3 separate regions of the Homo sapiens genome follow, and regions 1 and 3 are each linked to region 2. Evidence: promoter capture Hi-C in 16 types of primary human blood cells and fetal thymus (Javierre and others, 2016). All regions are on one chromosome and are shown on one strand. The core of a region is centred on a gene start or on the middle of the fragment in contact, and the rest is flanking DNA. Distances in the headings are between cores, read along the strand shown. Region 1 holds the start of LOC101928236 (a long non-coding RNA gene). Region 2 holds the start of LXN (latexin). Region 3 has its middle 110 kb from the start of VEPH1.

What was found. Contacts are between HindIII fragments. The CHiCAGO score rates a contact against its expected background, and 5 or more counts as called.
Region 1: a fragment that was not itself captured here is called in contact with the fragment with the promoter of LXN in region 2 in 1 of 17 cell types (erythroblasts); the score reaches 6.1 in erythroblasts.
Region 3: a fragment that was not itself captured here is called in contact with the fragment with the promoter of LXN in region 2 in 1 of 17 cell types (M0 macrophages); the score reaches 6.4 in M0 macrophages.

The regions. Positions count from the first base shown.
Region 1 is chr3:157,170,695-157,174,510 of GRCh38, forward strand. It overlaps LOC101928236 (a long non-coding RNA gene), which reads left to right and starts at 3,006. Exons shown (of 10, transcript XR_007096141.1): 1 at 3,006-3,816. It also overlaps the pseudogene RNA5SP146. RefSeq lists an enhancer at 3,655-3,816. The HindIII fragment of the contact is 1,250 bases long and covers 1,008-2,257 here.
Region 2 is chr3:158,670,996-158,674,595 of GRCh38, forward strand. It overlaps LXN (latexin), which reads right to left and starts at 1,653. Exons shown (of 6, transcript NM_020169.4): 1 at 1,355-1,653; 2 at 1-24. The coding sequence starts at 1,483. All of the region lies in intron 13 of GFM1 (G elongation factor mitochondrial 1), which reads left to right. RefSeq lists enhancers at 870-1,462, 977-1,036, 1,463-2,055, 1,477-1,526, 1,837-2,026. The HindIII fragment of the contact is 4,555 bases long and covers 1-3,600 here.
Region 3 is chr3:157,612,287-157,615,876 of GRCh38, forward strand. No RefSeq gene overlaps it. Among named protein-coding and RNA genes, the nearest start is that of VEPH1, 110 kb to the left of the region's middle. The HindIII fragment of the contact is 3,454 bases long and covers 1-3,239 here.

The sequences.
Region 1 (3,816 bases), core at 383-2,882, 1.5 Mb before region 2:
TGAACATATATGACTTATAGAATTGCCATGCCTTGAAAAAGAATTTTGACTCAGTCTGGTAATAATAGAAACAGATACAATGCACAGAAGGGGTTCAGAGGATGGAGGAATTTTTTTTGACAAGGTAACAAAAAGGAGGTAATATGTGGTCTAGGTTTTAAAGACTACATTCATAAACATTGGTCAGAAGGATAAGTGTGGAAGACCATTTTAGGCAGAGGGAAAACAGGTGCCAAGATGGGGAGGTATGAGATCGCTGGGTGCATTGAGAAATACAGTGAACATCTGTGTTTCAGCCTGCCCAGTGCCCAGTCTCCCTTCCTCAGTTCTCCCTTGAGGACCTGCAACTTCTCCATTCTCAGCAAAAGTGGTTTGGGTAGGACTAACCTCTTTCCTACTTTGTGAACTAATCTGAGTCTCCCATCGCCCTTCCCTCCCACACAGCGATTGGTTCTGAATGTCTGTCATGTCCAGAACTCTTGCTGGAACACTTGCAAGGGGAGGAGAGAGAAGTGCTTGTTCTTGCTGGGATTACTGAGAGGAGGATTTAAGCACAGAGCTACTGAGTGCCATCTTGACACAAAAGAGAACCAGCTGGAGAATGGAACCAGCAGAGAAAAGAGCAGAGACCAGAGCTAGAAACAGAATCCAATCACTTAGTTTATTTCCCTGCAGCCATGCCCTGTATTCTACTGCTGGGATTTTCAGTTACACGAACACTTAACTCCTTTTTACTTATTTAATCTTAAACCCATCTTAATGGAAAGACTGACACAAGAAATACTGTGGTGTGCTAGAATGTGGTGCATACGTGTGTATACTAGGGACTAATGTGGCTGAAGAGGTGGGCGAGGGCAGGCATGTCAGGCATGTGAAGGGCTGAGGAACAGACCCTCATTTTAGGGGACTCTCAGAAACTCTGGAGGGTTTAAAGCAGTGTTTACCTCAACAAGAAAATCAAGAGCTATAAATCAGAAACTGTAATATTAAGAACATTTAGTTTTTCAAGCTTTTCTAGTAGTTCATTTCTTTTTATTGTTTGTCTCTAATAATTACAAAACTTGAAAACAGGAGAAGGAGGGCTACAGAAGTAGCTGGGGCTGGAGCAGTGACTTCAGGGACTGGAGATAGCCCTGTACAATTAAAAATAGAAAGGACCTAGCAAGTCCCTGGAAATGACATTTTTAAAATGATTCCATTTTCCTCTTAAGGATTAAGTTGTAATTTTATTTTGAGCAATGAAGTGGCTGACCCCTTTTAGTAATGTTTTCTATTTCATAATAAACATTCAACAGAAATAGAATTTCAAGAGGAAACTTTTATAAATAATGAGAATCAGCTATTCCGAAGCTCCCTACACATTTTAATTAGTTTTCTCCCAGGAACACATTCATTAACTATTTTGAACACTATAAAACAAAAGTAAACCAGCACCACATCAAGTTCCCTGCGTATAGCTGTCATGTCTGTTTAAATTCTATAGCAGTTTGTGTGTGTGTGTGTGTGTGTGTGTGTGTGTGTGTGTGTGTCTTGTGATATTTTTCACAATTCCAGGCCAACTACTTTGAAGCATGTTCCTAAATTTGGATGTGTCTGATTATTTCCTCATGATTAGATTCAGGTTAAAGATTTTTCAAGGAATACTCCATAGGTAATGTTGTATCTCCATGCTTCACATCTAGGGGCACACGATGCCCAATTTTTTGTTCAATTATTGGCTACTTTTTATCATTTGTTAAGGTGGTATCCATCAGATTTCTCCATTGTAAAAGTACCTTAACACCCTTGCAATTAATAAGTAATCCATGGGATTATTCTTCCACAGTAAATAGCATTCTAACAAATATCAGTATCAAAGAAAAATGGCCCATAATGAAATTTTGTACAGTTAGAATGACTCTAACAAATCTCTACTGAGTATTCACTAAACTATGTTATGCTAGGCACTAAGACCAAAGTGATGAACAAATAGAGTACATGGAATGCTACATGAAAGGGTAGAATGCTACAGGAGCATACAGGAGAGGAACAAAGACCATTACATGTGAAGAAATGGAAGTTCAGAGATGTGAAAGGACTCGACCAAGATTTTAGATCCAGTAGCAGAGTGAAATTAGAACGGTGGTTTTTCTGATGCCCAGTCCAGTGTTCTTTCCATGACCACACACAAGGGCTCTACTGTAATGTTGGTTCTCTGGAACAAGTATAGCATTTGTTACCACAGTGAAAACAATGATACCTTAGTACTAAAAGAACAAGCTTTCTCCAGATCTACCACAAGGTGCTTTAGAGGGAATTTCGATTTAAACTATGTGCATTGTAACATTGAAGTCACTGGAGACCTAGTCTAGTTTTGCCTCAGGGAACTGTTTCTTTATAGTGTCACTGTCACACACACATGCACATACACACGCAGGCACATGCATACAGCACATAACTGGATATTGCTTATCAGCCCCATCTTAAAAATAGCACAGAACAAGACTTTTATTTTCAGCAATCAGGAAACGTTCAGAGGTATCTACATCCTAGTCTTGAGAGTCGACTTATATTTGATACCTGATTTTTATAGTTTTCACAGCATTTTCATATACTATCACTGGACTCTCAAAAACAACACAGTTAAGGCAGGTGTGATTGGGCACAGCTGTAGTACCAGGTACTCAGGAGACTAAGGCGAGAGGATAACTTGATCCCAGGAGTTCAAGTCCAGCCTGGGCAACATAAGGAGACCTCATCTCTTAAAAAACACCTGAACTGGCCAGACGCGGTGGCTCACGCCTGTAATCCCAGCGCTTTGGGAGGCCGAGGTGGCTGGATCACCTGAGGTCAGGAGTTGGAGACCAGCGTGACCAACATGGTGAAACCCCGTTTGCGGTGTTAGCCAGGTGTGGTGCCGCATGCCTCTAATCCCAGCTACTTCAGGAGGCTGAGGCAGGAGACTCACTTGAACCCAGAAGGCGCAGGTTGCAGTGAGCCAAGATCGCGCCCATTGCACTCCAGCCTGGGTGACAAGAGCAAAACGCTGCCTCAAAAAAATACAAAAAACACAAAAAAAAACCCCACCTGAATTATTTCTTAAGGTGGGAAAGAGGGATCAGTGTAAAATGTTGGCTGGATTACTGTCTTGCCTTTAGATATAAAAATATCTAGTGTATACTTAATTTTCAGAATTACAAAATTAGGGAATGATCAAACGTATATATATATTTTATTTTTCAAAAGCCTGCGGCACCCAGTGTTTCAAGGTGGTCTCGCATTCAAGGACTAGCTAAGCAGGTCAGACCCTGCTTAGCTTCCAAGATCAGAGAAGACAGGGCAAGTTCAGGGTGGTGTGGCTGTGGACCATGTTTTTATACCTATAATTTATTTATATTCATTCACTCAATCCTGCTGTATGCAGGACGATCTCAGCTTCAAACTCAAAAGCTGGATCTGGTGGTCAGCTCTTTCAGGCACTGTTTTGTCATGGGATTTAAAGATCTCTTGTGCTTAGTTTTGGATCTGTAAACATAAATCCCAACCTGGATTCTTCCCTGGGCTGACGGAGTTCAGGGAGAAAGGTAGCAGTAGATAAGTCATATGCTGGAAAAGCTTGGACTCTACCCTGTCATGAAAACTTTCAGGAACATTTCTTATTTCTTTTTAGAGACAAGGTCTCACTATGTTGCCCAGGCTGGCCTCGAACTCCCGGGCTTCAGCAGTCCTCCCGCCTCACCCTCCGATGTAGCTAGGACTACAGGACCGCGACCCGGCGCTGCCTAAGAACTGTTTTTAAACGTGAAAGCCACGGCTATCATTTGCTTTTTGCTCTGC
Region 2 (3,600 bases), core at 403-2,902:
CTTATGTCCTCTTCCTGGAATATCCTAAAATTAAGAAAATGTAGTGGAGACAAGAAAATATTATAACAACATTATACTTGCATTGTTAGAAGTATGCATCTCATTTGGTTGGAGGGGCTGGCTGAAGGGGAATGGTGAAAGCCTTAGGTCTTGAAAAAGGCATGTCACCATGAATGTAACATCTAATTTAGCAAGTCCCCTATCAAGTTTATTTTGGATGAAAACAAAAGAGTAGGATAAAAGCATACAAATTGGGCACAATTCACTTTCAATCATCAAAAGACTTTATTTAACCCCTGGATCTGTGATCTTAAAGTCTCTACATAAGAAAGTTTGAAACAGCGTTTAATTCTAAAGATGACAATATCACCTTTGAAAAGATTTTTTCATAAAGCTCAGTGTACCCTCCAAATAATGTTCAATGAATGTGAATTTCATTTTGAGGCAGATTACTGCAAAGCAATTGGAGACTTAATACAATTAAGTATTGTTTTTACTTATACATTAGTGAAACTGCAAAATGATTAACAAATTATATAAGACTAAGAAATGGTATTTCACTTTTAAATCAAGATACAGATTGAAAATTTATACCTAATTCTGTTATCTGGTACAGTTTCAAAATAAGATCTACTGTGTCACCTCTAAAAGACTGTTAGCAGTTAAAATTCTGTCAGATAAATAAGGGATAATCTCAAATCCAGTAGATTTTCGTAAAATGAAAACAAACCTCGTTAGTGATTGCTGAGGCCTTAAACATTTAATTCAAGCCTTTAGCAGAGGGTGCACATCATTTAAGGCAGTCATGTGGTAGCGGTGTTTGGGTGGCTAAAGGCCAGCGTCAGCCCACAGTGCTTTTATTCTTTGACTTTGATTGTCAGTTTCTCTTGCTGTTTGTTTCCCCCTTCATTTTGGTCAAAGGGTCTGATAAGGATTTGTCTTAAAATGTAGGCAATAGAGTCTTGGAAGATGGGAGCTTTTGTTGGTCCAGATCAGAGTAGCAGATGAGAAACGTGGCAGCCTTAGTAGTCTTTTGAATGGTTTCTACAGTTTACACTTAAGGAAAGTGCTGCCCCTTACCTAGAGCGTGTTCCCGTTTTCTTGTAACTGTGTGCGTAAAAACTTTGTCTCTGCCTTAAGGTGAAAACAGTCCCGGGCTGTCTCCAGAGACTGGAGTATAGACATTCCCCCAGAAACCTTAATATCTCAAGACCAGATACCAGCAGTGTGTCCTAAAACAGAAGGTGGGTAGGGGGTGGCACGGAGTGTCTGCACCCAAAGGCTGAGACCGCGGGTGAGTGGAGGGAGCGCAATCCTGAAGCCTCTGCTGTCCACCACCCCCTGCTAAACTCACCTCCATGCTGGCTTGTTTGACCTTCTGCACCTCAAACACCCTGTGCGGGGTCCCCTGCTGGTAGTTGATGTAGTTCTGTGCCACCAAGGCCGCCCTGGAGGCTGGGTAGTTGGTCGGCGGGATTTCCATTCCGGATGAGCAGTGACTTCAGGGCTTGGGCTACTCTGGCTTAACGGGACCAGTAGCAGAGCGCCGCCCGTCCTGCTTGCTGCTGGGTCCGGTTGCCGAGGCGGAAAAGTCGCAAGCTCCTTCAGTCAGTCTTCTTCCTCAGCTCCTTCCGACTCCGGAAGCTGCTGTTTGGGCCCAGGCTCCCTGCATCCGAGAGCCCTGGGCTGACTGCTTCTGAGGCCCCGCCCCACTACTGCCTGCAGCGGGCTTCCTTACTCCGCCTGCTGGTTCCTACTGGAGGAGAGGCCAGCATGCTTGTCAGGCACCAGCAGGTGGAGGTGTGGGGAGGGAGTCAGTGGGCTAGGTTCGCTGGGATTGCATCTTTCGTTTCATTAACCTTTATAGAAGTGCAGGGTGGGGCTTTCGCTGATATAGGACATCTCTGAAGACTCTAGTTTCCTGTCCATGGGAAAAAAGTCTGGTTGCTTCGCTTGCATACTGGAGCACAACTTCCTTATACACCGCATGCAGCGTCCCTGGCAGGGCAAGGTACACAGTACTCCAGGTAGTGATTCGATTCCTTCATTTCCCTTCCCCTTATGAGAGTCCAGGAAGAGGCTTGCTCATCCTCAGCTTTTTGTGGGTTTGGACCAGTTCTGCCCAAATCAAAGTATGAGAATCTGCAAACTATAGTATTAAATTGGGAGATTATGTAATTTGGATCAGGAGAAATAAAAAAATGCACCTGTACCCCTCTCCTTTACTAATCTTAAAATGATAAGTTTTGATGTAACGCCATGCTTCCAACTTGAGTCATTTTGAATATTTTACTTCAAGGATTAAAATAAACTTAAAAACTGAACTTATACAAAGCACTCTCTCTGGTATGTGGTCTACCTCATTGCAATGGGCCTATAAACCTGACTTTGTAGAAGTACAGGTTTATCCTTGGTGGTCTTAGGTTAATTGGGCTAGGATAACTTGGAGATTCTACCAAAGTTTGGCCAAGGTCTTCGCTGCCTGGATTGAGACCTTTTTTTCTTTTCTTTTCTTTTTTTTTTTTTTTTTTTTGAGATGGAATTTCACTCTTGTTGCCTAGGCTGGAGTGCAATGGTGCTATCTCGGCTCACTGCAACGTCCGCCTCCTGGGTTCAAGCAGTTCTCCTGCCTCAGCCTCCAGAGTAGCTGGGATTACAGGTGCCCACCACAATGCCCGGCTAGTTTTTTGTATTTTTAGTAGAGACGGGTTTAGGCTAGGCTGGTCTCAAACTCCTGACCTCAGGTGATCCACCCACCTTAGCCTCCCAAAGTGCTGGGATTACAGGCATAAGCCACCATGCCTGGCCAGGACCTTTAACTTGGTAGTAATGCACACACCCAAGACTCTTGAGGTGTATCTCTTTCTGATTATGTAGATTCTGCAGTAAATCTGGATTCTGGACTTTGGCCTCAGTTTCATGCTTATTATTGTCTCCTGGGATTTGGGGGTTCTGATTGACTTTGCCTTTAAATACCATCTGTCTGCTTGCCCATCATCTTGTATCAAATGTCAATGAAACTTTTCTCAGTCTTGTCCGTGTATGAGAAATTTGCTTTGCGAGACACTGTCTTTCACACATGACCTTTTTTTTTTTTTTTTTGGAGACAGAGTTTCGCTCTGTTGCCTAGGCTGCAGTGCAGTGGCGTGATCTCGGCTCACTGCAACCTCCACCTCCCAGGTTCAAGCATTTCTCCTGCCTCAGCCTCCCTAGTATCTGGGACTACAGGTGCACTTCACCACACCTGGCTAATTTTTTTGTATTTTAGTAGAGATGGGGTTTCACCATGTTGAGTTCAGGCAATCCTCCCTCCTCTGCCTCCCAAAGTGTTAGGATTACAGGCATGAGCCACCGTGCCTGGCCTCTCCACGTTTCTTAGTTCAGCATTTGTTAAACCCTGACCCACCCATGGCAATATTTTTGCAAATACAGAATATCAGCCAATTTTCGATGGGGTTGTCAGATACGAACTTACACTGTCTCCTGGGATAAATTTACCAAAGAATTGGTGAAATTTGGGGAACTTTGACATGAAGAAGACTGTTCATTTGAGAGACACTTTAGAAGAACACCAGAAATAAAAAAATAAGACTTTCGGAG
Region 3 (3,590 bases), core at 263-2,762, 1.1 Mb before region 2:
AAATACCACCAGATGTCTTTCCTTCTAGAGAGTAATCCAGGTAAGGCTGGTGACAGCTTCTTATTCCATAATGGCATCCCAGAGGGAAAAAGGAAAATGAAAGGAAGCTCTTTTAATCTTGGCATCATCTCAGATCTGATACTTGGAAAACAGGTTTATTTTAAAAAGCAGATCAGCAGCCCCAAAGGAGCATGCATAACAGGAGCCTCCAGCTTTGTTTGGGGCCCAGCTGTTCTTGGGCAGACTGACATGGCTTCTCTTCTGCCAGTGTCAGGCCAAGAATACGCTCCTTCCCCTCTGGTGCTACAAAGAGCAACAATGCACCCCGAGGGACAGAAGAATCAGCCAACAGGGCAGGAGTCTCTATCTCCCCAGCTATTACTTAGGCCTGTTGAGGGCTCAGAGGGTAGATCCCACTTCCAGTACAGCACAGGCCAGGAAGCTAAAGGCCTGCTGCAAAGTCAGATGGGAAGAACTGCAGGACATTCTCCCCACTGCTTCACCTGTGGGGTCAGGCAGGACCACAGATCTTTGGCAAACAATGTGGGCTGTGGAAGGCCCGTGACTATCTTGTGGAAGGGTGAATTTGAATCACCCTTGCAGAAAGGCAGAAATGAGTTCTTTGCTAGTGAGTGGGCCTAGCTGGCTGCCCAGCAGTGTTCTTGCTTCCGTGGAGGGTGGGCTATATCTGAATGTATGTTTAGACACATACCATGTTCTGAGAAAGTGTGCCTCAGGGACTGTCTACTCCAACATTCCCTACAGATTCTAAGACTGAGCCCTGGTCCCAACATCTTAGAAGGGGCCAGTTAAGGGGCGACAGAAACCTGTTGTCAGTCCCTGAAAAAACTCCACATAGTCATGTAAGTGTAACAAGACAGAGATTTTTTTAAACGGTTTCTTTATTTGATAAAGATGTTCATGATGATCATTGTCCTTGAAAATAAATTTCCAAAGAGTCATGGGGCTTATTTTCTCTGTAGTTTAGCATCAAGCAGAGAGAAAAGGCATCGGACCAATAGCTACCCTCTGGGAGCTGACCTGTGCCACCCAGTTGCCAGGAAACCTGCGCCATCCAGACTCACTTGTGCTGAGGACAGCTCCTGGCACGGTGGCACCCCATCCTCACCATTCATATTTTTCTTTCCCACAGTCCCAAATCTGTTCTAGTTAATCAGTGAGGAAAACAGTTTGGGAATAAAACTAAAATGGACATGACTATGCCTGGCCCTCGCCTTTTCTAAGACTGGAAAAGAGTTTTAGATGGCAAGAGGACCCCATCATTGCGCAGACGAGGAAAGGAAAAGGAGGGAGGTGAGATGGCTCACCCAGTGGCACCGCAGGGGTCAGCAGAGCCTGGGAGCCCAGCACTTCATTCCCAGCTCCATCCAGTGGCCACTGCCATACCACGAGGTGCTGCAGGTTTCTTATTTGATTGTATTGAACAAAAACCAGGGTGGGGGTGAGGAGGTAAACACTGACTGTCACATTTTAGGCCTAGAATCCCTACATTCTATATTAGCAGAAGGAACTAAAACTGTTTCCCAAGTAAAAATTAACCAATACACAGATGTGAATATGGATGATGTCTTAGCCTGTTTTGTGTGCTATGAGTATCGCAGACCAGGTAATTTATAACAGACAGAAATTTACTTCCCACAGTTCTGGAGGTTGGAGGGTCCAAGATCAAGGCACCATCAGGTTTGGTGTCTGGTGGAGGCTGTATCCTTTGGAAGGGGGCTAGCAGAAGACCAAGCAAATGAGCCTGCGTGCAGAGGCACTTTTATAAGGGCCTTGATCCCATTCACCAGGAGAAGCCCTCATGCCCCAATCACTTAAGGCCTCATATCTTTATATTATCACACTGCAACACTTGAATTTTGGAGGGGACACATTCAAATCATAGCCAATATTTTGGCTGTGTTTCCTACCCCCACGCCATTCATGAGCCAAGTTAGAATCATTGAGCTTCTGCCCAACCATTGTGATGGATCCTCTCAAAAGACTCCTGCCTGTAATCCCACCACTTTAGGAGGCCAAACTCGGCAGATGGATCATCTGAGGTCAGGAGATCGAGACCATCCTGGCAAACATGGCGAAACCCCGTCTCTACTAAAAATACAAAAATTAGCTGGCCATGGTGGCAGGTGCTTGTAATCCCAGCTACTTGAGAGGCTGAGGCAGGAGAATCTCTTGAACCTAGGAAGTGGAGGTTGCATTGAGCCGAGATCGTGCCATTGCACTCCAGGCTGGGTGACGACAGCGAAACTCCATCTCAAAACAAACAAACAAACAAACAAACAACAACAAAAAACAAAAAAAACCTCACCTCCCTCTCTCACAGCTCTTGTCTCCTTTTGGGCCTAAGGAAAACACCAGTTCCACAGGAGAGGATGAAGGTAAATGGGAGGTGAGACGGCTCTGGAACTGGCCTCCTATGAAGCCACAGTAGCTTAATTCCCTCACGAAGAGACTTCTTCAGCCAACCACGTCTCAGGCTGCACCCACCAATCACAATCCCAGAAAGAAGAGGCAAGGGAGTCTCTGAGACAGGCTGTCCTCAGACCAGGAGCTGAGGTCAGTGGTGCTCTGCAAACTTTCATCCGAACTTTGTCTCAGCCTTCCTTTTAAGCTCCAGGAAAGACTAGAAGTCACAATCTTAGAGGAAATGGACTTGGGTTTTCATTAAATTTCTCCTGTATGGGGCATTGGGCAATGGGCATGTGAGTTCAGCTTCTGACAATGGTGATTCCCATTGCTCTGTTTGAATAGAAGCCACACTTCAGAGGAGAAAGAACAGGGAGTAACGGTGTCTGGATTTCTGAGTCACCCTGGTCAGGATACACCAGGTCAAAGTGCTTACCTTTCAGTCGTTTGGATGATTTACTGCTACCTGACTGGTCTCCCTTGCCTTGATTTTTCCCTGTCTATGTTTACTTTACTCAGAGGAAATACCTATCTCCTTATCTTACCCTAATCAATAGATGTCTTTGGTGGGTCTCCACTGCTTATCCATTCAAACTCCTCACCTCAGAGTTGCAGGTCCTTCATCACACTGGCTCACCGCTCCCTTCACAGGCCTGCTTTCCTGCCAAGCCACATTTCTAAGAGTTCCCTAAACTCAACCTCTCTCTTTCAGCTTTTCCACCCATTGACTTTATTTCAGAATAATTCCCTCACCCAGAGCACCACACTGCTCTTGCTACAAACCTCTCTATCTGCCCAATTCCAGCCATCAAAGCTTACCCCTAATGTCACCCAAAGTCTAACACGGTCATTATCTCAATGGTGATGATGAGGAGAAGGATGTTGGTGCATAGCATGTATTATTATGTACCAGGCCACATGTTAAGTGTATGGGTCTTTTCCTCAAAACAACCCTACAACATAGGTGGTGTTATTATCTCCATTTGACAATGGAAAAGAAACAACCAATGCACAAAGAGGTGACATGACGCTTCACTCCACCATGGATTGTAGTAAGTCATACCACTTTGCATCTTTCCTTCTAAGGGAGCATGAGTGGGGCCCTAGGCCTCTTCTTTCCCACCCCCTGCCTACTGCAGTGCCTGACACATGGTACCTACTGA